Linked DNA regions of Homo sapiens: regions 1, 2, 3, 4, 6 and 7 are each linked to region 5. The links are contacts of gene promoters, found by promoter capture Hi-C in blood cells and fetal thymus (Javierre and others, 2016). All regions are on one chromosome and are shown on one strand. Each heading gives the region's core, a stretch centred on a gene start or on the middle of the fragment in contact. The rest is flanking DNA. Distances are from core to core; before and after follow the strand shown.

Region 1 (3,430 bases), core at 172-2,671, 400 kb before region 5:
TCCCCCGCAGGAGGAACTGGGCTGCATGAGGAGCCTCCCACATCCCAGAAGAGGTGGGGGTATTCCCTAACATAAAATGTTTCTCGGGGATCAGTGGGGCTGGGAATGGTCATCCTCCTGAGGCGGGCAGCTTGGCTGGGAGACTGGAATTTGGGGGTGGGGGCTGAAGGCACATTTCCTGGCTCCAAGTCAGCACTGGGGTGACCAGTGCACATGGGATTCTGGGGCAGAGGATGTGCTTGGAATGGGTCATGGCCAGGAAGAGTCCAGGTGGGTCCAGGTGGGGTTCAGTTAGGGTTCAGGTGGGGTTCATGTAAGGTTCAGGTGGGGTTCAGGCAGGGTTCAGGTGGGGTTCAGGCAGGGTGCAGGCTCCCTGCCTGGCCAAGGGTGCCCAGCTCTGTCCCAGGCTCACCATTGAGCTTCTCCCCAAAGAGCGTGAGGAAGACGGTGAAGTTGATGGGGCCCTTGCCCTCTTGCAGCATGGCGTCCAGCTCCTCCTCTGGGACACTCACCTTCCCTGGTGGGGGTGGGGCATGAGGTGCACACAGGGACCCTGGGTGTCCCCCAGAAGGCCCAGGCCGCCCTCCCTCCATCCTGGCCACAGGGGCTGGAGGGGCAGAGGCAGCTGTGGGTCGGGAAGGTGAAGTGGAAGCAAGGCGTGACAAGGGGGGAAGGGCAGTGTGAGGAGACGGGGAGGAGGGGAAGCAGGGGAGCAGAGTCCTGTCCCCCCAGCCACTCCCACCCGCCCAGCAGCTCAGAGTAGGGACCCCAGTGCGCAGGGTGGGAGGTGGGTGCACGCACCCAGCTGGGAGTAGGTCTCCCTCAGGTCTGCCTTGCAGATGATGCCATCACGATTCTGGTCGATACAGCTGAAGGCCTGTGGGATGGGGGCCTTCAGGTGGGAGCAGCCCCCAGCTCTAGGGAAGGTGGGAGGTGGGGGAGAGACCTGGGTGGTGTGAGAGGCAAGGTCAGGGTAGAAGGGGGGTATGTATGTGGGGTGGGGTGGGGGGGCCAGGATGGGATCTGAGGCTACTGGGAGTGGGCACTCACTTCTTTGAACTCCTGTATCTGGGCTTGTTCAAACATGGAAAAGACGTTGGAAGAACCACGTTGGGCCTGCTTGGTGGCTGCCACCTTGCCCCGGGTCCCCGCCTTCCTGCTGGCCTGCAACACTGTGAGTAGGGAGGGGTCCTCTCCCCAACTCCTCAGAGTCTCCCCACCCCACCCATCATGCACAGTCCCAGAGCATTCCCAGGAGAGCCAGGGCCAGGATCCTCTTCCTCTCCCTGGGGACCACCCTCAACCCAACACAAGCACAGAAAACTCTGCTCCCCCAGCCCAAAGGCCAGCACCTGGGAGACCGCTAGCCTTTCTTCCCCAGCAGGCACTCACCATTCTCTCTGCAGAGGTGTGGCTGCTGTCGTGGTGGCAGGGCCCAGCCTCCTTTATGTCTCAGCCTTATCACCTGAAGGTCCAAATAAGGAGAGGAACAGAGGATAGGCCCAAACTTGGCAGCCCCCGCCTGGGCTGGGGGAGGCCTAACAGATTCCAGCCACATTCCTGATGACCTTCATGTCCTCAACGTGTAACATCCTGCTGTCTATCCATCCTGGCAGGGCCAGACACAATGTCTGCCTGGAGCAGAGCAGGCTCAAAGCTCTCACCACCCTAGGTCCTGATGAAGGGATCCAGTTACTCCTGTATCTGACCACCCCTCCTTGCCAGTCCAGCCAGAACCCTGGCCAGTGCAAGAAGACAGCTGGTGAGGGCCAGTCCAGGGCCCCCGCCAGGCATGGGAGGGCAGTGTGTAGTTCTGAGGATGGTCTGTGGCCTGAGACCCCCGGGGCTTCCCAGAGGTTTTGGTGACCCTAGGCTCTGACCTTTTGCCCCTCTGACCAAGGGGCAGAAGGCATCCCTGAGCTAGCTGTGACCCCAAGAAGAACACTTTGCTTGGCTTTGGGGCAATTCCAGAGGGTTAAGGAGCTCCATCAGCTGCCCTCCCATGCAGTCTACCTTGCTCCCAGTCTGCCCTGCTGTTTGGAGCCTTGCCTTCCTCAAGCCTCATCTCAACCACACTACTTCAGAATGCTCTCCCTAACATCCTCAGCAGGGAGCTTCTGGGGCACATTTCCCATTTGCCTGGTGGCTGATGTGTTTGTCATTCCTGGCTTCTGTGCCCCTCCTGAGCACCCCACCTGGTTGACATCTGTATCCCCAGAAGGCCTGGTGCACAGTGGGCCGATGGGCAGGCCTGCGTGATGCTGTTCCAGAGAAGCAGTCTCGCCAGCTTCTGGGGCCGAGGGCACAGCAGAGGGGCTGGGGAAACAGGGGACATCCTGGAGGCAGCAGGAGTGGGCCACCCCAGGCTGGGCTCACTGGCTGCTGCCCCTCCACTGGAGCCAGACCTATGTCTGTCAGTAGCTGGCTGGTAGAGTGCAGGAGCTCTTATCTGTCAGACCCAATACCCTTTTTATATAACAAGAGTTTTCTTTTAAATTTCTTAAATTCCCTTTTTTTTTTTTGAGACAGAGTCTCACTCTCGCACAGGCTGGAGTGCAGTGGCGCGATCTCAGCTCACTGCCACCTCTGCCTCCCGGGTTCAAGCCATTCTTGTTCCTCAGCCTCCCAAGCAGCTGGGATTATAGGCATGTGCCACCACACCCAGCTAATTTTTATATATATTTTTTATTTTATTTTATTTTTAGTAAAGACGGGGTTTTATCATGTTGGCCAGCCGGTCTCGAACTCCTGATCTTAGGTGATCTGCCTGCTTCAGCCTCCCAAAGTGCTAGGATTACAGGTGTAAGCCACTGAGCTCTGTCACCCAGGCTGGAGTGCAGTGGCATGAGTAGAGCTCACTGCAGACAACCTCCTGGGCTCAAGTGCTCCTTCCTGCCTCAGCCTCTGGAGTAGTTGGGACTACAGGTGCACACCACCCTGCCCAGTGTTTTTTTTTTCTTTTTTTAATTAATTAATTCATTTTTGAGACAGAGTTTCGCTCTGTTGCCCAGGCTGGAGTGCAGTGGTGCAATCTCTGCTCACTGCAACCTCCGCCTCCTGGGTTCAAGCAATTCTTCTGCCTCAGCCTCCTGAGTAGCTGGGATTATAAGCACCCGCCATCATGCCCGGCTAATTTTTGTATTTTTAGTAGAGTTGGGGTTTCACCATGTTGGCCAGGCTGATCTCGAACTCCTGACCTTTTGATCCACCTGCTTTGGCTTCCCAAAGTGCTGGGATTACAGGCATGAGCCACCGCGCCCAGCAGTGCCCCCCCGCCCCACCCTTTTTTTTTTAAGAGATGGGGTCTTGCTATGTTGCCCCAGGCTGGTCTCAAATTCCTGGCCTCAAGCAATCCTCCACCTCAGCCTCTCAAAGCACTGAGATTATAGGCATGAGCCATCACACTGGCCCATAACAAGTGTTTTATGAC
Region 2 (3,829 bases), core at 945-3,444, 480 kb before region 5:
CTCCTGGGTTGAAGTGATTCTGCCTCAGCCTCCCAAGTAGCTGGGATTACAGGTGAGCGCCACCACACCCGGCTAATTTTGTATTTTTAGTAGAAACGGGTTTTACCATGTTGGTCAGGCTGGTCTCAAACTCCTGACCTCAGGTGATCTGCCTGCCTCAGCCTCCCAAAGTGCTGGGATTACAGGAGTGAGCCACCGTGCCCAGCACCCTTTGGTTTCTAAAGTGCTCTAAATTCTAGACATCCTGAACAGAGGAGCAAGTGCGGAATGGAGCTGGAGGAGGGACAGGGAGGCCGAGCCTGGTCGAAACCTGACCCTGCCTGCCTCCTGCAGCCCCTGAGCTGGGAATAGCAGCTCGACCTTTGATGTTCGCGCCACTCCACCCCTGCTCCGTGCAGGAGGGTTTAAGAAAATGTTCTCTGGGGAGTCAGAGTGAAATCCCTCATATTCACCACCAAAAGTGCGTCCCCTTTCCCCAAACCAGGCTGTGGGAGGGTCATGGGGCTGCATGAAGTCTCCGGAAGGGAGAGGAGGCAGGTGGTCCTTCCCTCTGCCTGGCCCCAGTGCCAGGTGCCAGGTGTCCGTGTTTGGAGCGGGCAGGCTTGGGGCTGGCTGGGTCTCCGGGGCCTGCCGGTCTGGGTGCTCTGGCCAACTGCCCAACGGCCCTAGGAGCAGGAGGTCTGGGGCACACCCTTCTAGCCTTTCCAGGACTCAACAAGCTTTAAGGTCATTCAGATGCTAATTTAGACTGCCCTTGTGTCAGAATACTAAGGTGGGAGGCGGAGCGGAGGTGCCAGTCACTCTGGGCGAGGCCTTACTGCGCCCATGCATCCCGGGCCCATTTGTCAGCCCTTGCTCTTCAGTGGGAGCCCAGCTGCAAGCCCAGAGTCTGGCCACTCCATAGTCCTGCACCCCTCTTTTGATTGGTCTTTCCTTTGCCCAGAGAGGGGCTCCAGAGGGAGATAGGTGGTGAAGCTCATGCAGGGATTCTGAGGACCTGATGGGGGAGGGCCCTGCGAGGGGTCCAAGCCTACATCAAGAGGAATTCAGTACCAGGGGGAGCTCCCCACCACCCCGGAAAAGGGAGAGGCCCAGAGATGGAGGTGGCTTGTCCAGGGCCCCACAGTAAGTTGGGATTTGGAGCCAGATGCTCTAAGCCCAGCCCTTCCGTTTCCTAGCTGGGTGTCCCTTGGCAGATGCCACCTTTGGAGCCTGCCCCACCTCGGGACACAGCGAGCTTCGAGTGCAGTCAGCCCCTGTGGAGTGTGTCCCAGTTACACAGAAATGGGGAAAATTTCACAAAACTAAAAAATGGCTTCTCAGCCCTCCTTTTTCAGTGAATGATGTGGAGCCCCACGCCTAGAAAGCCTGGTCCATGGGCGAGAGACTTTGCTGAGATGAGAAGCCAGCTGGGGCTGCTGCCCACCCACCCTGCCCAGGCTCCTGAAGGTGGCCTCACCTTCCAGGTGCTTGACAATGCCCCGCAGGCTGTTCCCGTGGGCTGCAATGAGCACTCGCTTGCCGGCCTTGATCTGGGGAACAATCTCCTCGTTCCAGAAGGGCAGGGCCCGGGCAATGGTGTCCTTGAGGCTCTCGCAGGTGGGGAGTTCCCCGGGCTTCAGGCCTGCGTACCGACGCTCCTGGGGGACACAGGCACGCTGCTTTCCCTCCCAAGCCAGTGGGCCCCCACCCGACTCCCCACTCTGCAGCTTCCCAGAGGCCTTCCCAGCAAAGGCAGCCCACCTTGCTAATGGAGTTGTAGTAGGGGTGCTTCTCGTCCATCGGGGGCGGCGGGATGTCGAAGGAGCGCCTCCAGATCTTCACCTGCTCCTCCCCGTGCTTGGCGGCCGTTTCTGCCTTGTTGAGGCCTGTGAGGCCCCCGTAATGCCGCTCATTGAGGCGCCAAGTGCGCACCACAGGCAGCCACATCTGGTCCGTGCCGTCCAGGATGGCCCAGAGGGTGCGGATGGCCCGCTTCAGCACTGACGTGTAGCAGATGTCAAACTCCATCTTGGCATCCTTGATGGCCTTGGCTCCCCGCTTGGCCTCCTCGGTCCCCTTTTCACTCAGCTCTGCATCGAACCAGCCACAGAAACGGTTCTCCTGGTTCCATGTGCTCTCGCCGTGCCGGACCATCACGAGGCGGTGAGTGGCCATGGTGGCAGCAGGGACCACAGAGGACTCTGGACGGGGACGGCTGCTTCCCAACACTCCCAGCTTTATAATAGTGTCTTCCCAGCCCCCACCCACCCCAGCCAACTGCCAATCAGCATTCCAGGCGGTGGCAGGTGACCAGTAGCTGAGCTGCTGGGGGCTGGGGGCCAGGGGAGTGTGCAGGCCAAGAGGCTGTGCTTAAAATAGCCCCACGCATCCACCAGCTCCTGGCCTGGGTTCAGGTGGCATGTCTATAACCAGCTGGCACCCAGAGCCCAGACTGAGTGGGGCTGCTGGTCAGGGATGGGCGTGAAGGGCAGAAGTCTGGGCCAGGGGAGATGGGGATAGCAGGGACAGAGGGGCTCTCCAGGGCAACGCTCAGTGGCCTATCAGCCATTCTCTGCTCAGACAGAGGCACAAACAAAATCCCAACCCCTTTCTCCTGTGATTGGCAGCCAGGCTAGGAGGCGGCCCTCAGCAGGCAGAGGAGGAGAGCCAGAGGAGCTGGTGCAGACCACAGCTTTGTGGAGAGGAGTCTGGCCTTGTGGAAGGTACCAGGCAGCAGCAGCAGAATGGGCAAGGGCTGGGGCTGAGCCGGGTTTCCAGGACAAAGGGGGAAAGGGCCCCTGTCTTTCCTCCGGGGTCCCTTTGTCAAGGTCTCATCCATACATGCCCCATGCTCCCACCCTATCTGCCCTCACCCAAGCCACGCTCACTCTCCTAGCCGAAACCACCTTGAAAAAGAGAAATCCAAGGGGGTTTGGGGGCAGGACTGAGGACTGTCAGAAGTCTTGATTGTTAGGTAAATGCTCAGCTTAGCAGGAACCCACAACGTAGGCTGAAGGGTGGCACGGAGTTGAGTCTAGGACCAAGACTTCTGCATTCAGGTTTGGGGGATGAGAGCCACCAAGGCAGGGAAGAGACTATGAGCAATAAAGTCACAATTGGGGCCCTAATGAAGGGGCCATGGCCAGACCCTTGGGCATGGGCCCCATCCAGGGCCTCCCATTTCCTCCCACCCCAGTGACCACACTGTCACCTGCGACACTTCTGATAACAGGAGCGGGTAGGTGAGAGGCCAGCAGAGGGACCACCACTCTGAGACTTGGATCTGAGTGTGCAAGAAACCCTCGACAGGCCTCCCTCCATCCCTGCTGGCCTACCTGGGGAGGGGCTCCTGGCTTGGGGCCTGTGAAGCTAAGGCTCTGTACCCAAAGGTTGGCAGACAAGTCCCAGTGGGCAAAGTCCTGTCGGCTGCCAGGACCCCCAAGGCTGGCAGGTGGAACCCATCCCTCCTAGCAGTGCCATGCGCAGGTCTCACTGTTCCACACTGATCCTGATTGAAGCCACATCTCCTCATCTGCTTTTGTCCCTTTGACCAAGAGTTGATTCACTAGCCCAACTAAACATGACTGAGGACCAGGCTCTGGCAGTCCCACAGGGGCCAGACATGAAGCCCATATTTCAGTGGAGGAGGGATCGTACCAGCAGCTAAACATGCCTACCGTAGATAGCACCAGATGCTAGGAAGGAAGGACCATAATGTACTGGGAGAGATGGGAAAGGAGAGGCCGGGGACAGCCCTGAGGTGACATGTGAGTGGAAAGAGCGGAGTGCAAAGGCCTCAGCTATGATGAGTCCTACAGGGAGAGCAATTCAGGTAGAGGGGTTGGCA
Region 3 (3,713 bases), core at 633-3,132, 380 kb before region 5:
TGGAGCTGTGGGTCCCTGAGGAAATGGCCAAGGGCCAGGGCAGTCCCTGGGCAGATGCTGCAGGCCTGGGGGCTCCAGAGCCCATCCGAGTGCCAGATGTCCAGCTGTAGCCTGGCCCCCTCCATTCCTGGGCCCTCAGGTGGCTATGTACACAGAAGTGAGTGGCCTTGGGCTAGTGCCCACATTCTCCTGAGGGACAGAATCCCTGATCCACCAACCCCTGGAAATGCCATGCAGAGCCCCCAGAGAGCCAGACAGCCCTGGGCAGCCAGCCAGCTCCCCCCATAAAAGCCCCAGGCCAGGCCCCGGACACTGGTGTCCTGGGTCACCGTTAGCTCCAGGAATAAGTACCCTAGAACCCCTCGAGAGGCTGGACACTGGATAGCCACAGTGAGGAGGGGTGGTGGGCAGAGGGCCAGTGGCAGGCACAGCTGCCCTAGCCAGGACCCCCAAGGCCCATGTGCCTCCTTCCAAGGTGCCCCAAGCCTGCTCGCCTTCCCTGCCCCCAGCCTTAGTTTTGGTAATCTGCAAAACCAAGGGCCCTGCCCTGGGTGCTGCTCTCCCAGTGCAAAGTCCCTAACTTTGGTGTGACCCTTACCAGAGTCAAGGCTGTCTGGGCCTGGCTCCTTGTGACATCCATCGCCATCTCTCCGAGGGGCTAAGAGGTAGATGCTTTGGGAGGCAGAGATGCTCCTGCCTGCTGAGGCCTAGCACATGCTGTAGCCTTGGAGCGTAAGGCCCGCCTGTGGCAGCAACGGCTGCTTGGATGGAGAGCTGCCTGAGGCTGGCAGCCCAGGGCTTCTGCACTGAAAGGGCTCAGCCTGGCGGCTGCTCAAATACTCTGCCCCCTGCCATGGGGTCAGAGGCAGGGCAGAAAGGGAGGGTAGGCCATGTGGGTAACAGTTGACAGGGCCACGGGGACAGAGCCATGGGGCAGCCGGCCACACTCTGTGAACATGGGGTAGGGATTGCTGCCCAGCAGGAGGGGGTGTGCAGAGCCAGCCTACCCATCTTCCATTCCTCAGCCTTGTGCGGGCAGAAAGTCACCAGGCTGCCTTGGCCACAGAACACTTACTGAAATGCCCTTGGACAGGGAGGGGGTCCTAAGGGGGCCTGGCCCGCGCTGGTGCAGGTCTGGACTTGCTCTTGGAGGCAAGGGGATCCCCAGTGGATTTTCATCTGCAGAGAGGTTCGATTTGCATTTCATACAATCCAGGGGTCTGTATGGAACTTGGGGAAGGGGTGGTGGAGGAAGGTGGCCAACTGATCAAAAACAAACAAAAAACAGGGGTATCATTCTTAATTTTGTGACTGCAAAGTCCAGGCCTCAGGCTTGCTTTGGGTGCCTCCATGGGCATAGACCATGACTTCCAGGCTCTGGCCCAGGCCTCTCCTTGGGCTCACCTGGGAGTGACATCCACATGCTATGTACTTGCTGGCACCTGCCAAAGCCTGCTAAAATTAGCTGGAGCTGGCAAGTGGGTCAGGGTATGGAGGGTGCCTTGTCAGAATGCCAGGTCTCTCGCCAATGGCCAGAGTGATCACTCCCAAGAAAGCCCTTGATACAATTGATCCCTTTCCCAATATAGAGCAGAGATGGCCTCATCAGATCTCATGTGACAGGCCACTGACCCCCACAGCCCCCAGCTCTGAGCTACTGTTTGCTCATGGGGGCAGGGCTCACACCCAGGTTTGGAGTGGCACTGGGGCCTTCTGGTTCAGCCAGGCCAAGAAGCAGCCACCCAGCGAGACTTGCCCTTCTTCTGGGCCAAGCACACAGCACAGGGGAGGAGAATCTAAATTCAGTTCTCAAGAAAGGCTGAGGATGTGTACAAAGCCTGAAGCTGAGGCAAGTGGGCCCCCTTTCTTGGTTGACTGAACTGCCAGTGCCCTCTCTAGCCTCTATTTAGAGCAACAGGCATCCCCTAGAGTTCCTTTCTGGGAGCCACCTGCTGATATTCATTGGCATCCATGAGGCCAGAAAGCGGCCCAACACCCCTACTTCCCCACACCGTCTAATTCTCCGGGACCAGATTCTCATGACTCATGCCAGCCCTCCTGGGCACCCACCCTTGTCCTGTCTCAGTGCCTCTTCTTCAGGATAAGGGGTGACACCAACAGTCTGTACTGCACTGGAGTTGAGAGTCATTGTAGCAGGAACAGTTCCTGCTTTCCAGGAATTTTGGAAGGGCAAGACTGTCCAGAACCTGTCCAGAGAAGAGGGGCCAAGAAGGGGAGGGCCTCAGAGATGATGGCTCATGGAGGATGACCAGGACATGCTTAGAGTCTTCAGTAGCTCAAGGGCTGTCCCGAGGAGGATGGATGAACATTGTTTCTGCTTAGAGCTTTCTAAAAAGACAGAACTGTGCAGCTGTGGGCTAGGATGTCTCAGTAGATAGTGAACTCCCCATTTCATGGGGAGAGAAAGACAAGAGCAGAATCAGAAGGGACCTTGCTCTATGTCCCAGTGGTACCCCCATTTCTTAGTTGCTCAGGGTTCTGATTGACAGACATGACTTGATTTTCTTTTTCATTCATCAAAAGAAAATAATATGACAAGTTTGGTGATGGATATTCAAGATGATTAATTCTACTATCAAAAAACGAGACACAACCCACATACCCAACTACAGGAGGTTGGTTAAATAAATTATGCTACACTTACATGTAGTCATTAAAAATGGTAAGATTCATCTGCTCTATTGGCATGGAAAGATGTTCATGACATACTGTTGAAAGGGAATGTGTAGCCGCCCTTGAAGCTGGCCTTCAATTAGCCCTGCTTCTGGTATTCACCCCATGGTATAGTCTCTTCCATGCAGAATAGGTCTAGCCTGTGTAACTAATATGATAATGCAGAAATGGTGGAGTATGACTTTGGAGCCTAAGCCAGAAAAGACCCTGTGGTTTCTGCCTTGTTCTCTCCTGGACTGTTCCCTCTGGGGGAAGCCAACTGCTATGCTATGAGGTTGCCTACAAGAACTCTGGGAAGATCCATTGAGAAGAAGCGAAGTCTCTTGCCAATACGCAACTCCAACTTGCCAGCCATGTGAGTGGACCACTTTGGAAGCAGCTCCTCTGGCCCCAGTCAAGCCTTCAGGTGATGCAGCCCCAGCCAAAACCCTGACCTCAGGAGAGACACCAAGCCAGACCACCCAGCTAAGCTGCTTCTGAATTCTTGACCTACAGAAACTGTGTGAGATAACAAAGGTTTGTTGTTTCAAGCTACTATGGTTTTTTTTAAAAACACTTTATGAAATAAAATTTTGTTATTACAGAACAAATAAGTTTAGAAACCATTTTCTATCTTTTAGCATATGATCCAGATATAAGACAGTGTCATACCACATTCTTGTCATCATAATACACGGAAAGGTGAAGCCACTAAGTTTTGAGGCAGTTTGTTATACAGCAATAGATGACTAACACAGGGGAAGAACAGGAAACATAGTATGATCCATTTTTGTCGTATATACGATATAGATAATATATGTATTGGGAGGAAATATACCAAAATGGTGACAGTAATTATCTTGATGATGGTGGTATGAGGATTTTAATTTATTTTCCTTTTTGCTTATCTGTATTTCCTACCTTTTCTGCAGTAAATGGGTATTAATGGAGTAATATTTAACAATGAAGTTAAAAAAAGAAAGGTTGAGCCTTATCTGCCATTTTGCACAGAAGCAAGCCTGGAGGCCCAGATTCTAAAG
Region 4 (3,852 bases), core at 600-3,099, 400 kb after region 5:
GTTTTAGAAAAGAGGTTATACTTTCTTGTAAGTCCTGGGGCTGGCATCTGTGCTTCGTAGCCCTCTTTGAAGCTTTAGGAATTCTCAGGTTTGACACTGGCACAGCAGCCCTTGTAGAGAGACGGCCCAGGACCGCTCGTCCCCTGTTCTTGGGTCTGGCAGCCTGTGACTGACCTGGTGTCCCTCATGCAACCTCACAGAACAGAGTCAGGGTCACAGCACTGTCATGGCTGCACCATGACCTGGCAGTCATTCTGAGAATTGTGGGTGACCACAGGAACATGCAGCAGCCTTTTATTTCAAATAAGCTCCAATAAGCTCATTGCTTGGAAAGAGTAAACTGTGGGGTCTGCAGCTTAGAGGAGACATTCTGGGCTCCTTCACTCACTGTCAGAGAGCAGGCTATCTGGGAGCATCGAGTTTGATTGCTTTTTGTAGTCTAATTTTTTTTTTTGAGATGAGGACTCGCTCTTGTTCCCCAGGCTGGAGTGCAATGGTGCAATCTCAGCTCACTGCAAACTCTGCCTCCTGGGTTCAAGTGATTCTTCTGCCTCAGCCTCCTGAGTAGCTGGGATTACAGGCGTAAGACACTGTGCCTGGCCCTAATGTTTTATTATATTTTAGTATTCAGTGATTTTACTGAAATCTATCATAGTTTAAAAGTTTTGTGAGCGTCATCTCTTAACAGACAACTGTCTTGCAAATAGAAAAATAAATAAATGTAAAAAAAAATTACTGAATTGATTCTTTGAATAGCCAAGGAAACTTTGTGGTTGTGTTATAAAATTACATGTGACAAAATAAGTTGAAATTCTGAAGGCTGTTTTCTCTGGGCTGGTGCTTGGCAGTCTCCCCAGCACATTCATGAATGCCATGTCAATACTCCAGGCTGTCTCCATATTTTAGAAATTCCAAAATCGATTTGAGATTTGTAACTACATTCTATAAGAAGGCTCCTGTGAGAGTAGAGTCAAAGAAAAGACTTTCTAGAAGCTTGAGAATAATGCCCTTCTCCCAGCCCTCCCCTGCACACCTGTCCCATGAAGTCAGGAGGGTGAGACTTACAGGCATTGATCATCTGGAGACTTCTGAAGGCAGGAGCAGGGTAAGAATCGAGGCAGAGTGCAAAGAGAATGGGAAGTACTGTTCCCTAGAGACAAGGACTTACTCCGATTTGAGTCTTGCATTTCTCACTGGGCACAGGAGAGGCCCTGGTGTTTCTCTGGCCTAAAATGATGGAGCATAGGGTGTAGCCAGTGGAGCAGAGGACCTGCTGCCCCATGGAGGGCCTCCAGGCTGAGCAAAGGGCTCCCCAAACAGAAAAGAGGTGGAGGCACACACGTCTCAAGGGGCCCATGGGCCGTGGCTGCTCTATTCTGGTGAAGGGCGTCCTCCACATGAGAGAGGTCAGCCCCCCAAATAAAACTGTGCATGGTCACATAGCAAGCCCCCTGCCAGCTGAGACTGCTGCATCTCCCACCCTCTAACAGCGTCAGTGACAGATGGGGCACAACTGGGCAGGAACCAGAATCATCCCCTCTTCAGCCACAACATTGCTGGGCCCCAGGTGGATGAGAGACCCTGAGGGGGTAAGACATTGGAAAAAAGATAGAGGGGATGAGATGGCATATCACCCCTCACAGACACATGCACATTAACTCTTCTCCAAGACACAAGTCTGAGCTGAACGGCAGTGGGAGCAGAAGTGGGGACCTCTGAATAAGTATAAAAGTGGATTTTCTTAATTGTCTGGATTAGTGAAAATGACCAAAAAGCAATGGCCATGACTTATAGATATGTGTGTTCCCATTACCTAATGATACCATCTGCTATAAATTTCTTAGCAGGTATTGTACCAATAAAAGCATTATTAGAAGCCATTAGAACAATGACTAAAATAATTATGGTATCAATCCTAGGACTGAGTGAGTTGGGCAGCCTACCAGGGTCTTATCTACACTGTAAAAACAAAACCTCTTACCCTGCTCTGAGTTACTAAAATGGAAACTGGAGACTTCTTTCTCCACTCCTGAATCTGAGCCACGTCACAAAGTGGGACCCATTGAAGAAAGGTGACCCTGGGGCATGTCCACAGAAATGGGCTGTGACTCTCTCTCCTAGGTGTTTCCAGAGGTGCTTGCAAGACAGCTGTGCTCTGGGGAAAGGGGAATGAGCAAAGACCCAGAGAAACCTCTGTGGACCACAAATCAGAGAGGAGCAGGTGGAGGTTGAGGAAGGTGGTGCTGTAGTGGGCCCAGTGTTCTGCAAACCCACCTTCGGTAATTTCCCAAATTGTTCATAGATGTCAGGAATAGACATACTTAGTTACTTGCCAGAAACTCTGCATTAGGGGCCGATGAGCTAGAGCTCTTCAGCTAAACTGGTTATATGTATGTAACATCTGTATCTATGTTGCTATATATGTCTATATGATCATATATACATGTTGCACGTATATATTTGTGCATGTACATTCATGTGACAAAAGAAATAGAAAGATCAATTTGACCTTTTGAAGACACAAAATTTAAAAATACAATGCATTTGTTGGAAAGAATCTAGTATATAAGAAATGTGTAATGTTCAGGGGAATTAATCAACACAAGCTGTGGTTTGTGTCACGTTTTAAACTTAATGATATCTGTAGACCCAATGGATGGCAGAAATAGAAATGAGTATTGTCCATATTTAATGATGAGGAACTTGAAGCTTTCCCACTAAGATCAGGAACAAAGCAAGGATGTTCCCTCTCACCACTCTTTTTCAACATTGTACTGGGCAACCTGGCTAATGCAATAAGATAAGGAAAGAAAACAAAAGGTATACAGGGTGACTTTTTTTTTTTGAGCGTCTTGCTGTGTCACCCAGGCTGGAGTGCAGTGGTGTGATCCCAGCTCACCACAACCTCTGGCTCGCGGATTCAAGCGATTCTCCTGCCTAAGTCTCCCAAGTAGCTGGGACCACAGGTGCCCACCACCATGCCCTGCTAATTTTTTTTTGTATTTTTAGTAGAGATGGGGTTTCACTATGTTGGCCAGGCTGGTCTTGAACTCCTGATCTCGTGATCCATCCACCTCAGCCTCTCAAAGTCCTGGGAATTACAGGCATGAGCCACCGTGCCCAGCCAGGATGACTTTTTAAAAAAGAAATAAGGCCGGGTGCAATGGCTCACGCCTGTAATCCCAGCAATTTGGGAGGCCAAGGTGAGCAGATCACCTGAGGTGAGGAGTTCAAGACCAGCCTGGCCAACATGGTGAAACCCCATCTCTATTAAAAACACAAAAATGAGCCAGGCGTGGTGGCGGGCGCCTGTAATCTCAGCTACTCCAGAGGCTGAGGTGGGAGGATCGCCTAAACCTGGCAGGTGGAGGTTGTAGTGAGCTGAGATTGTGCCACTGCACTCCAGCCTGGGCAACAGAGCAAGACTCCATCTCAAAATAAATAAATAATAAAAACTAAAAAAGAGATAAAACTTTTTAAAGATGGCATGATTGTCTATGTAGTGAATAACAAAAACAAAAACAAAACCTCCTGAAGCTAATAAACAATTATAGCAAGGTTGTAGGATACCAGGTTAATCTATAAAAGTCAAATTGCTTTGTTATATACCAGTAATGAACAATTGAATTTTTTAAGAGACAGGGTCTTACTTTGTTGTTGCCCAGGCTGGAATGCAGTGGTGTGATCATAGCTCACTGTCACCTCAAACTCCCTGGCTCAACCAGTCCTCCCCTCAGTCTCCCAAGTAGCTAGGACTACAGGTGGATGCCACCATGCCCAACTAAGTTTTAATTTTTTCTGTAGAGACAGGGTCTCGCTATTTGCCCAGGCTGATCTTGAACTCCTGGCCTC
Region 5 (3,536 bases), core at 943-3,442:
TAGCTGGACCGGTTAGGAGCCGTCAGGATCACCTGGTTGGTTCGGAAGAAGGGGCCGAAATGCTGGTCATGGAAAGCTTTCTCACTCCGGGCTTGGCTGTTGGGGGCCGACCACAGCTCCACGGGGTCCGTAGTGAGTTCTGTAAAGACCAGGCCCGCTGCCAAGGCCACCACCGGGATGACAGATAGCACCAAGATGGTCAGAGGCCACGAAGCCACCCACGTGCCCCAGCCCTGGAAGAACTGGCCAAGGAGGGTGTGGGTGGAGAAGCTGAGCTTGTCAGAGAGGCTGGTGCCCTTCTTGGGGTCCACCATCTTGCTTTTGTCCCTGGCGGGGGCCACACGGAATCCCACAAGCAGGATGGTGACCACAGCGAAGACAGAGCAGAGGATGATGATGAGGACCAGACTGCCCGGCATCTGGCCCAGGTAGAAGGTGGAGTCGAGGGCCTGGGGGCGGGCTATGGCAGGACAGGATGCAGCACAGTCTTGGCAGGAGCAGGTCGCCACGTCGTCACCTTGGGACTCATTGCAACGTGCAACCCCCTCATTCAGAGGCTGAATCCCACTCCCCACGGCCTGGCCAGGCTCCAAGAGGTGGAAGGTGATGTCCAGTGGGGCCAGACCATTGCCTGTGTCTCCCTGGAAGTTGAGCCAGCGCTGGGCATTGCAAAGGGCAGAGCCATACACGCCACACATGGTGCCCACAGCCAGCGTGGCAGCTGCAGGGACGCGCACACGGCTGCAGGAGTCATAGCTCTGCTCGGCAAAGCTATGCTGGTAGAAGGCCTCATAGGCCACCACAGCTGGGAGTTGTCCAGCCCCTAGCTGGGCCACGCGGGTCACATTGATGAAGAGGCTCTGATTGGGGCTGCACGTGTTGTGGCAGTGCAGGTTCACAAAATTGTCAGAGCAGGCTGGGCAGCGGGTGAGGAGGGCCTTGGTGATCGACAGACTCGCTTCCAGTGATACCAGCTGCTTGGCGGAGCAGCAGGCTTGGGTGTTGGGGCCGGTGTAGAGGCGGGGGCAGATCTTCTGTAATAGGATCAGGTGATCACCTGTGATCTTGCGGGCCGGCGTGTTGGACAGGCAGGACACGTTGGAGAGTGTCATGAGGCTTCCAGACAGCTCTGGGTTCTTCCCACATTCGTCATAGAAGGCGCAGTAGCCAGGCTGGTGGATGGTTGTGTAAGGCTCACTCTGGGCCTGCAGAGCACAGCAACATCACGCGTGGGCCCTGACACAGCTGGGTGCCATCCAGGCAGCAGGCAGCCAGGGAGGGTGTGAGGGTAAGAAGGACATGGAGCAGGGGCAGGGAAGCGGGGAGTGTGGGGAGTAGGAAGCCTCCTGGAGGCATGTGCCAGCCAGCCAGTGTTGGAGTGACAACACTGGCCTTTCTTCCTGGGGGTGGCCTGATAGACCTGCAGCTTAGGAAAGTCATGCTGGAGAGGCCAGAGATGGGTAAGGAGGCAAAGCTGACTCCAAGGTCCCGGGCTCTGCCCACGTCAAAGTCAGCCTGAGTCCCCACACTGTACACCACATCCAGAGGCCAGGGTCTCTCATGGAGAGTCTGTTCAGGAGGCCCCCCGACTCCCACCACCACTACCACCACCTGCTTGAGGCCAAAAGCTGTCACCCACCTCCCAGACACAAAGTAAGCGAGGAACTTAAGAGGTGCCAGCGCTGGATCTTCTCCCAGCCTCCAGAGTGCTCAGTCCTCCCTAGGTGATGCTCACCAGGTAACCCCATCCCAGCACCTCCTTGCCTCAGACCTCCCTCAACTGCAGGCCTGGACCCCACAGTAGGGCCAGTGACAGGAGGGACTTGGAGCACCCCAGTCCAGCAGCCTCTTTCACCCCTGTGTGCATTCAAGCCTGTAACCTGGAAACCCTCCACCTGCACCCCTCCTCTGTGGGGCCTGGCATCCCTCATGTGTCCAGAGACTTGCCCAGCCCGCAGGCCCTGAGGCTCCCTTGCTGTCACCCAGTAACGCTCGCCTGGTACACGGCTGGCCCCAGGGTCCCTAACTGGAGGCCGCAGGGGAGGTGGAGCCAAGCCCTGGGACTCACCAAGCGCAGGAGCAGGGCCCACAGCAGCCAGCCCCTCAGGCCGGCCTCCGCCATCCCAGGTCTGGGAAGGGGTCAGCGGGGAGCCAGGCCAGGCCTCAGGAACAGCCAAGGGCTGAACACACATTAAGGCAGCCTCCTCCCCTTCGATGACAACCCTGGCCTGACTGGGTTAGGGACCAATGAGGCTGAGCCCTGCTGGTTAATGATCCACCACTCCCACTGTTTGGCCCCAGTCCACAGGCCCCCGCTTTAGATGAGCCTCATCACGCAGGTGCTAGGGTCTCCACTCACTTCCCAAAGCGACCGAAGCCAGAGGGCTGAGTCAGCTAGGGGAGAGACCACGCTATTAGCCCCTAACACTGCTGGAGTTGGTGCCAGGGCCTGGAGGCACAGATGGGACCAGGCACTGGCTGGGACCCGGCCTCAGGAGCTCAGCATGGCCGAGGAACCTCCGCACCCTCCCTGGCTCAGCCTCAGACCCCAGCTCTGCCCTACCCCCTCTTGGGACCAGGGCCAGCAATGGGCTCAGAGGAACCCTCTGCACTGTCATCCCTAGCAACTGTTGTTAATTAATATTAACAGCCTGATAACGGAGGGGCAGGCAGGGTGGAGTGACGCAGTGACAAAAGTCCCCTCCTCCAGGAAGCAAAGGGAAAGAACAGCTCACTCTAGGGCCTGACAGTTGACAGAGACCCCAGATAGTGGAAGACTCTCCTTTGCTCACTTTGCTCTTCATCCCCTCTTCCCCCCGACCTTCTCCCTCTTGTCCCTTGCCCAGGCCTGTCCCACCGGTCACCCCTAGCAAGGGACAGAGCATGGCTGGGAGCCTTGAGCAGCAGCCCTGCTCCACCTGGGCCCAGGGGTGTGGTACACACTTTCTGCTCCCTCCTGATAGGAATCTTCAAGGCCTACCTTGGGTTCTCACTATCACCAGGATGGGCCATGACCTTTACCCCCATTTGGTAATGGGCCCCCATTACCAAAGCTGAGCTGCAGATAAGGGCAGCTTGTTGGGAACATCTCCTGCGTGGCCACCTACTGGAGACAGCTGCAGGAAGGGACCTGTCTCTAGTGTTCTGTGGACCCCTGCCTGATTCACAGGGGAGCCACCCAGCCTCATGCAGGAGAAGACAGAGGCTGAGAGGAAGGGGGCCAAGGCAGGGTCAGGCTGACCCCTAAGTTCTCAAGACAGCCATAGTGGAGAGGAAGACAGTCAGCAGCCAAGGACCTGCCCCTGTGAGTGACAGCTCCATCCAGCACCTTCCCAGCACTGCTCCCAAGTCCCTGGCCGGCAGAGGCGGACACCCCACCACCCATGAAGCTGCCTCTCTAGGTCCTCTGTTCCCGGTGTTGTCATCTAGTTCCTCCAGAAACAGATCCTGAAACAAGGATCCCAGTGCAAAGAGTTTATTGGGGAGATGACCCCAGATGACAGCAGTCGGTGAATGGGGAATGAGCCAGGGGATGG
Region 6 (3,810 bases), core at 1-2,500, 460 kb before region 5:
CTGCCTGCCACATACTTGTTTGGCTCTTGGGCAAGCCACGTGTCTATACTTTGATTTCCTCTTCTGTAAAGCAGAGATAACATATCCACCCTGTGGGGTTGTTGTACAAAGATAGTGCCTTGTACACTCTAAGCTGCTATCATCCTCTCCTGAGTGGGTCTGGCGCACTACTGATCCCTGGTAATGTTAAAAAATCAAACACAACTGTGGGGGAATACTAGCCCCAGGTTCGTTTGCTCTCTCAACCTCCAAACTAGGGGGCACCCCCAGCTCCCTTACTCTGGGTGTTGTCTCTGTAGCCGCCATTTTTTCTTCTCTTGGTTCCCTTCCTACAAGAGCTTCTCAGTCGTGTTATTTACTCAGGCCTGAGGACAGAGGAGCCTGCGGGCTCCGGGCCTCTTGAGAAGTCAGTCTCGCTCACAGGTGGGACATAGCCCAGGCAGAAGGGCTGTTAGCAAATACGACTTTTTTTTTTTTTTTTTTTGAGACAGAGTCTCACTCTGTCGCCCAGGCTGGAGTGCAGTGGCGCGATCTCGGCTCACTGCAAGCTCCGCCTCCCAGGTTCATGCCATTCTCCTGCCTCAGCCTCCCGAGTAGCTGGGACTACAGGTGCCCGCCACCACCTCCGGTTAATTTTTTGTATTTTTAGTAGAGACGGGGTTTCACCGTGTTAGCCAGGATGGTCTCGATCTCCTGACCTCGTGATCTGCCCGCCTCGGCCTCCCAAAGTGCTGGGATTACAGGCGTGAGCCACCGCGCCCGGCCTACTGCTTATTAATTACCCCTGACCTCTGGTTTTGATTCTCGCAGTGATCCTTTAAAACACGCCTCGCCCTAATTAATAGCACCCTTTACAGAAGAGGAGATGGAGGCTCAGGGAAAGGTCACAAGACCACGAAGTGCCACTGCAAACTTAGAATCCAAAACCAGAAGTGCCATGGAAGCCCTCGCCGCGCCGCGCCGCCCCGCACCTGCAGGCGTCAAGGACGCGGAAGCCTTTGGAGCGCGCCAGGCCTGTGAGGAAGGCCCGGCGGCTGCGACCCATGCGAGGCTCGACCAGGTAGATGGCGACTCCCGGGAAGCGCGTCGAGGGCGGCGTGGAGGAAGCGGCATCGCCGCTAGGGGACCCGACCCGCGCTCGCCGCCGTTTGGGGAGCATTGGGACGACAGCCTCCAGCAGCGCGGAGCGAACGCAGAGGGAAACTCCGAGCGAGACGGAAGGAAGCCCCAGTGAGGCTGACGGAAGCGGGTGGGCGGGCGGGCGGCCGCCGGCTGGAAGAGGACGTGGCCCCGCCCTATGCAAATGAGGCCTCTCCGTGGGGCTCGCTACTTGGGCCAGTCGGAGCGCTGGGGAGGGTCCGGGCTCCTACAGGATTGGGTGTCCCGGCCGCTCCGGAAGACCCGCCTCCATGCAAATAACGGCAGAGGACCCGCCTTTTATTTAAATTAATGTCTCGGAAAGCGCTGTTCGGCCCCATTGGCCTCCGGGAGGAGAGGCTGGGCTGGAGCGGGGCGGGGAGGGTGTTGGAGGGGGTGGAGGAGGCGGGGTCAAGGGGGCGTCCCCGGCTAGGGAGGGTGAACTGGGACCTAGGCCCGGGCGGAGCGGGGTGGGCTGTGTCCTTGGCGCCGGGGCTGGGTCTAGGGTTGAGCCGGCGGCTCGGGGCGGACGCGTGCGGGCTGTGCCCGATCCCTCTGCGCTCGGGACTGTCACACGGAAGCCGGCGGGCGCAGGACCGACACGCGGGTTTCCAATGCGCTGGTGGGGCGGTCGCTTCAAACACGCGGGAAGATTTTTCAGTCGAATGGCATTAGGACAACTGGCAGGCCATTTGGAAAAATAGAAGTTGGTGCCCTTCCTCATTCCTTAACACCAAAATAAATTCCAGATGGGTCAAACATTTCCATCTAAAAAGGAAACCAACAACGTACTGGAAAAAAGTCGGTGAATGTTTTTATGATCTAAATATCACAATAAACTTGGAAACACTAAAGGAAAAGAATGATAAACTGGACTACAGACAAATTTTAAATCTGATTAAAAATTAGAGTCAGAAGATAAACTGGGATAAAGTGTGAGATATTTTGGAATTAAGATTATCTCATGATAATCTTATCAAATTGTCCATAGATAAAAAGACAATAATTTAATAGAAAAATTAGCAAAAAAACTCACGTAGATGATTCTTAGAAGAAATCCTGGTCAATAAATTTATGACCAGAGTGCCCAACCTGTCCAGTCGTTACAGAATACCTAAATGAGAATATCTTCAGTTGTGGGTTTATCAAACATTCAAAAAAATTGACCACACATGTTGAAGGTGCGAGGTAATTGGCAATCCATAGGAAGGACTGTGGAAGCCAATGTGGCAACCACATCCAACAAAATGAAAACAAAATAATACACATTGATCCAGCAATTCCTTTCCCAAGATTGGGATTGCATTGAATCTATAGATCAAGCTGGGGAAATCTGATGTCTTGATAATATCAAGTCTTCTGTCTATCTTATTTAGATATACTCCATTTGTAACCTCTGTTACGGTAGTGTGGCACTGCTCAGCCTAACTGATGGGACACCAGATCAGATGCAACCCCCTTCCACATGCCTCTCCTCATCACTGCCCCATCGTCCTCAGTCTTGAGCCCCAGACTCCTTGAGCACCTATCCTTTTTCTTTGGCTCCTCTCTGACATCTTTAGTGGGCTGGCTCTTCCCCATCTCTGCACTCAGAGCACAGGGCTGAGGGGAGTGGGGGAGATGGCTCAGCCCAGGCATCCTCTTGACCTCCTACACCATCTCCCAGCCTCCTAATTCATCTACCTCTTCAGGGCTGTAGAGCTTCCTGGGCCTCAGGACCCACATACAGAAGCCAGGAGGCCTGCGTATGGTCCCTCTCTCCCCATCCTCCCCTTGTGCCAGCAGGGATGGGCAGGCTCTAAGGGTCTTCGTCTGTGGATCTGGCTCCTACCCTTCTCAAGGAGGAGGCTCTGCCCAAATATCCCCTGAGCAGATCCCTCTAGCTGTCTAAAACCATTTCTGTTCCTTTTAATGTCCTCTGTCTGGCCAGAGCACCTGGGCTCCCCTTGGAGCCCTTGTTCTCTCCTGGGAAGGCAGAGGCAGTTTTTAAGACTATGAGACCTGAATACTTAAAACACTGGGCAACTGTGCAAAAATGTTTGTGCAAGGAATCTCATCCAAATGACAGTGGAAGAAACTGCCTAGCTTAGAAATCAGCCAGGCCCTCTGAGTGGTTGCTGCAAAGTGTCTGCTAGGACAACATGGGGCTGAAGGATTCATGAAGATTGGCCAGTGGGGGCAAGAAGGGGTGAGGAGGTGGGGAGAGAGAGGGACTTGCCTGCTCTGCAGGACGAAGATGTGCCCTATACCCAGGGAGAGGTGGCCTGCCGTGGAGGTGAAACCACCTTTGCAGAATTGTAAGTCATGAGAGAAATCTAACATGACTGCCTCCCTCTTGCATCTAACCTCACAGACTAAATTGGTTTTCTTATTTCTTTTTTTTTCTTCTTCTTCTTGTAGTGCAGAGGCCAACATAACTATGAGAGGAATTTAGTTCATAGTTAAAGGCAAGAAAAACTGACCCCCTCCTTGTTTGGAGATTGAAACCACATTCATAAGACAAGGTTAGAATTGTGGTGGGGCCTGAACTTTGCTAAAGAATGGGCATAAACAGCGACCTGCCGTTTCTCACTTGGCTTGCTTTTCTATAATGCTTACTGCCCTGGAGTCACATAGCCGGAAATCTCAAGATTTCTAACTTCTCCAGCTGCTCATATAGAGGCCGGGCACAGT
Region 7 (3,705 bases), core at 238-2,737, 350 kb before region 5:
CATTGCTGTTGTTTATTAGGTTGTGTTTGGTGTGCCCAGCCTTTCCAAGGGCACACCTTGTGTTCTTGGCCTTCCTCTGCATCCTTCTTTCTGCTCTCATGTGGGGCCTACAGCCCCGAGGATGTGGGAGGTGCACGCCTGGTTGTGGAGCAGGGGACTCCTCTGCAGGCCTTTCCACCTGCCCCTCTTTGACAGCTCTGTAGACTTCCTCTCGCTTTTTGTACGGGGCAACCCCACGACTATCAGGGTACCATTGACAGGACAAGCCACTTGCCTAAATGACCATGTGTCCTAATTCTAAGTTCCTGGCATTCATCCAGTATGGCTACTGATAACTGATATGGTTTGGATATGTGTCCCCACCAAATCTCATCTGAATTGTAATCCCCAATATTGGAGGTGGGGCCTGGTGGGAGGTGTCTGAGTCATGGGGGTGGATCCCTCATGAATGGCTTGGGCCATCCCCTTGGTGATGAGTCAGCTCTTGCTCTGAGTTCACACGAGATCTGGTTGTTTAAAAGTGTGGCACCTCCCAGTGCCTCTCTCTCTCTCACTCCTGCTTCCACTGTGTGATGTGCCTGCTTCCCCTTTGCCTTCCGCCATGACTGTAAGTTTCCTGAGGCCTCCTCAAAGGCTGAGCAGATGCCAGCACCATGCCTCTTGCAAAGCCAGCAGAACTGTGAACCAATGAAACCTCTTTTCTTTATAAATTACCTGGTCTCAGGTATTTCTTTATAGCAATGCAAGAATGGCCTAACACAGCTACATATCCATCTCTAGCCCCTCAGCTGCAGAGGGGTGTCTTAGGACAAATACAGCTTCTGGGAAGCCCCTGCTGGGGCACAGCCTCAAAATCAGGGCACCTGCCTCCTGTCTTCCTTGGCTGTAATCCCTTCCTGCCCACGTATACTCCTGTCCTGTTCCTCCCTTGCTCTGACATCCCCTATTGCTTCGTAGCCAGTGGCAGAGCTCAAACCTTTGGTGGCAGACTCTGTCTGTCTTCCCTGGGGCCTGGAGAACCCAGAGGGAGCCCAGGATGCCTTGGTGTGGGGTTGCAGTGGGGAGCAGTGTTCCTGAGGGCTAGGTGTGCTGACAGACCCTGATTGATGACATCAAGTCTGTGCACCTGAGGCTTGGTGACCTACTCAGGCCATGGAGGCCTGACCACATTGGTGGCCCCTTTCCACACCCTTTTCCTATATGAGCTGTGGAGGCAGCTCAGCTGCCATGGCCTTAGCTGACTGAATGAGGAGGTGTGGGGGCAAGGGCCATTGTGTGGCTGGGCTCCCCACCTGGACTGGGCTTCCTGGGGGTATGCTCCTTGATAGGCTTTTGTCCAGCTCCCCAAAGGTTCTGCTGTACAGCAAGGGCTGGCACCTTATGTGAGCTAGGCAAGGCTGCAAAGGCGGGTGGGTACTTGTTTTGCTCAATGGGGCAAACTTAACAGGGCCTGGGCCATTTATCGTGGACAGCGTTAACTCCAGTTCTGTCTGCAGAGAGGCTTTTCTTCTAGGTCCCAGCACCTCAGGTGGGAGCCTGGACTAGAGAACTCTGCTACCCACACTCCTGTGCGGGCTTCGTTCATAGCCTTACTGCCCATTTCCTGCATTTTCCATTCCCACAATGTTGTACTTGCAGAACAGGTGCAAGAACAATACAAGCATGAGAATCGCTTGAACCTGGGAGGCAGAGGTTGCAGTGAGCGGGATCACACCATTGCACTCCTGCCTGGGCAACAGAGCAAGACCCTGTCACAAAGCAAAACAAACAAACAGATACGCTTCATCCTGATTCCTGTATTTGCTTTATCATTCTCTTTCTCTCTGTCTCTCTCTCTCTCTGTCTCTCTCTCTCTCTCACACACACACACACACACACACACACACACCCTGTAAGAGTAAGTTGCAGACACAATGTCCCTTTACTTCTAAATTCTTGTGTATATTTCCTATAAACAAAGACTTCTCTTATATAACCATGGCACAGTGATGGAAAGCAGGAAATTAAAATAGATACAATACTATTATCTAATCTAGAGGCCTTACTTGGGTTTTAGCCTATCTTCAAATCTCTACTTCCCATAGATGCCTTCCACCCTCTATGATTAATAATCCTTTTCTTCATTAATGAGAAGACAAATAATTATCACTGTTACCTGTTAAACATCAACAATGACTAGAGCTTGTAATATAATGTTTTATTATTTCCAACAACATTCCTATGGAAAGAATATTTTTCTAGTTTTATAGATAAAAACAAAAGGAGACTCAGGGAGGTAATGGTTTGCTCACTTTTGTGATTTTGTGATGTGTCAGTGCTGGGACTGAATCCAAGTTGGGTGACAGCTGGGGCGATGCAGCAGAAGGCAGGTCTTGCTTTTTGGTAACACAGTGAGCTTGGGAAGTCTGCAACCACATGACTATGAATGAGGCTTCCTGGAACAGTAGAGGCTGAGTGAGGCCAGAGAGGAGCAGGAAGAGTTGCCAGGAGTGGGCTGCATGACAGTTTGTTAAGCATTTCACTGTTGACATCTGAACCCCAACTCTGTCCCTTACCAACCATCTCCTTAAATTGAATCTCAGTCTCTATGTCTGTAGGGTGGCAATAATATTTTCCCCTGTTTTTGTGAGGATTAAATGATGTGGCACATGGAAAGTACTTGGCATAAGGTAAACTTTGGGACAGCCACTATAATGTGTCAAGTGGATACACTGAAATTTATTCCATCCAAGCGCTGTCTTCCTGATCTTTTTGCACAACTTTCAGTGGAAGGAAGAGGGGCTCCAGAGACTTTCCTCAGAAATGGCTCTCACCTGCCTCCTATAGGGAAATGGTGTCAGTGCAAGCAGTTGAGCCTGGACTGATAGCACCCAGCAACCCAGCTTGTCAGACTACTGTGTCCATATCTGTGGGTGGCTGAGCCTAGCCACGGCCAATGGCTGTTCCTAATGTTTACTACCAAAACAGGGGAAATGTGGAAAAGCCCTTTCCACCCTCTGTACTTGGAAACACCCAGGGAAGAGGGTTGGTGACAGAGGTACTGAGTGAGTGGGCAGGTGGTGGGAACTTCCTTTCACCACAGATTATTTAAAGCAATGTTTCTCAGCTGGGCGCAGTGGCTTAAGCTTGTAATCCCAGCAATTTGGGAGGTCGAGGTGGGTGGATCACATGAGGCCAGGAGTTTCAGACCAGCCTGGCCAACATGGTGAAATCCCATCTCTATTAAAAATACAAAAATTAGCCGCGTGTATGGATGCATTCCTGTAATCCCAGCTACTCGGGAGGCTGAGGCATGAGAATCGCTTGAACCTGGGAGGCAGAGGTTGCAGTGAGTGGGATCACACCATTGCACTTCTGCCTGGGCAACAGAGTAAGACCCTGTCACAAAGCAAAACAAACAAACAAACATATATATCTGCAAAGCAATGTTTCTCAAAACTACTGCTCCCAAAGGACATTTTGACGTTTTTGATTGTGCAGTGGGGAGGGGGTGGGTTGGTACTGACATTTCTACAAAGGCCTGAGATGCTGCCTACACAATGTACAGGGCAGTCTCCCAACAAGAAAGAACTATCTAACCCAAAATGTCAATAGTGCCAAGGTTGAGAAACCTTGATTTAGAGTAATGTTTAAAGTGATGCTGTTGTTTTTCCAATATATCATCTCTTTCCCATAATCTCAGATACGGCTGCTTCTAGCATCACA

Evidence for each region. Contacts are between HindIII fragments. The CHiCAGO score rates a contact against its expected background, and 5 or more counts as called.
Region 1: the fragment with the promoter of MYL7 here is called in contact with the fragment with the promoter of NPC1L1 in region 5 in 3 of 17 cell types (M2 macrophages, erythroblasts and total B cells); the score reaches 8.0 in M2 macrophages.
Region 2: a contact is called between the fragment with the promoter of PGAM2 here and the fragment with the promoter of NPC1L1 in region 5, in 8 of 17 cell types (M0 macrophages, erythroblasts, M1 macrophages and 5 more). The highest score is 7.8, in M0 macrophages.
Region 3: a fragment that was not itself captured here is called in contact with the fragment with the promoter of NPC1L1 in region 5 in 7 of 17 cell types (M1 macrophages, M2 macrophages, total CD4 T cells and 4 more); the score reaches 8.3 in M1 macrophages.
Region 4: a contact is called between a fragment that was not itself captured here and the fragment with the promoter of NPC1L1 in region 5, in 5 of 17 cell types (non-activated CD4 T cells, total B cells, monocytes and 2 more). The highest score is 7.9, in non-activated CD4 T cells.
Region 6: a contact is called between the fragment with the promoter of POLM here and the fragment with the promoter of NPC1L1 in region 5, in 3 of 17 cell types (M2 macrophages, M1 macrophages and M0 macrophages). The highest score is 7.1, in M2 macrophages.
Region 7: a contact is called between a fragment that was not itself captured here and the fragment with the promoter of NPC1L1 in region 5, in 3 of 17 cell types (M1 macrophages, M0 macrophages and M2 macrophages). The highest score is 8.4, in M1 macrophages.

What each region holds. Positions count from the first base shown.
Region 1 is chr7:44,139,911-44,143,340 of GRCh38, forward strand. It overlaps MYL7 (myosin light chain 7), which reads right to left and starts at 1,422. Exons shown (of 7, transcript NM_021223.3): 1 at 1,393-1,422; 2 at 1,051-1,164; 3 at 802-877; 4 at 413-517. The coding sequence starts at 1,395. It also overlaps a transcript of GCK not described here. RefSeq lists an enhancer at 234-1,076. The HindIII fragment of the contact is 19,152 bases long and covers 1-3,430 here.
Region 2 is chr7:44,063,373-44,067,201 of GRCh38, forward strand. PGAM2 (phosphoglycerate mutase 2) reads right to left here and starts at 2,195. Exons shown (of 3, transcript NM_000290.4): 1 at 1,744-2,195; 2 at 1,460-1,640. The coding sequence starts at 2,157. It overlaps DBNL (drebrin like), which reads left to right. Exons shown (of 13, transcript NM_001014436.3): 13 at 1-3,829. RefSeq lists enhancers at 778-887, 1,532-1,591, 1,782-1,831, 1,892-1,961 and a silencer at 3,142-3,211. The HindIII fragment of the contact is 4,752 bases long and covers 718-3,829 here.
Region 3 is chr7:44,158,475-44,162,187 of GRCh38, forward strand. All of the region lies in intron 1 of GCK (glucokinase), which reads right to left. Among named protein-coding and RNA genes, the nearest start is that of MYL7, 19 kb to the left of the region's middle. The HindIII fragment of the contact is 6,327 bases long and covers 1-3,713 here.
Region 4 is chr7:44,936,275-44,940,126 of GRCh38, forward strand. No RefSeq gene overlaps it. Among named protein-coding and RNA genes, the nearest start is that of MYO1G, 41 kb to the right of the region's middle. The HindIII fragment of the contact is 1,716 bases long and covers 992-2,707 here.
Region 5 is chr7:44,539,138-44,542,673 of GRCh38, forward strand. It overlaps NPC1L1 (NPC1 like intracellular cholesterol transporter 1), which reads right to left and starts at 2,193. Exons shown (of 19, transcript NM_001101648.2): 1 at 2,069-2,193; 2 at 1-1,205. The coding sequence starts at 2,122. RefSeq lists an enhancer at 865-1,486. The HindIII fragment of the contact is 6,836 bases long and covers 75-3,536 here.
Region 6 is chr7:44,081,280-44,085,089 of GRCh38, forward strand. It overlaps POLM (DNA polymerase mu), which reads right to left and starts at 1,251. Exons shown (of 11, transcript NM_013284.4): 1 at 972-1,251. The coding sequence starts at 1,159. RefSeq lists an enhancer at 1,025-1,525 and a silencer at 1,237-1,816. The HindIII fragment of the contact is 8,170 bases long and covers 1-3,810 here.
Region 7 is chr7:44,193,732-44,197,436 of GRCh38, forward strand. No RefSeq gene overlaps it. Among named protein-coding and RNA genes, the nearest start is that of YKT6, 5.4 kb to the right of the region's middle. The HindIII fragment of the contact is 3,272 bases long and covers 1-3,123 here.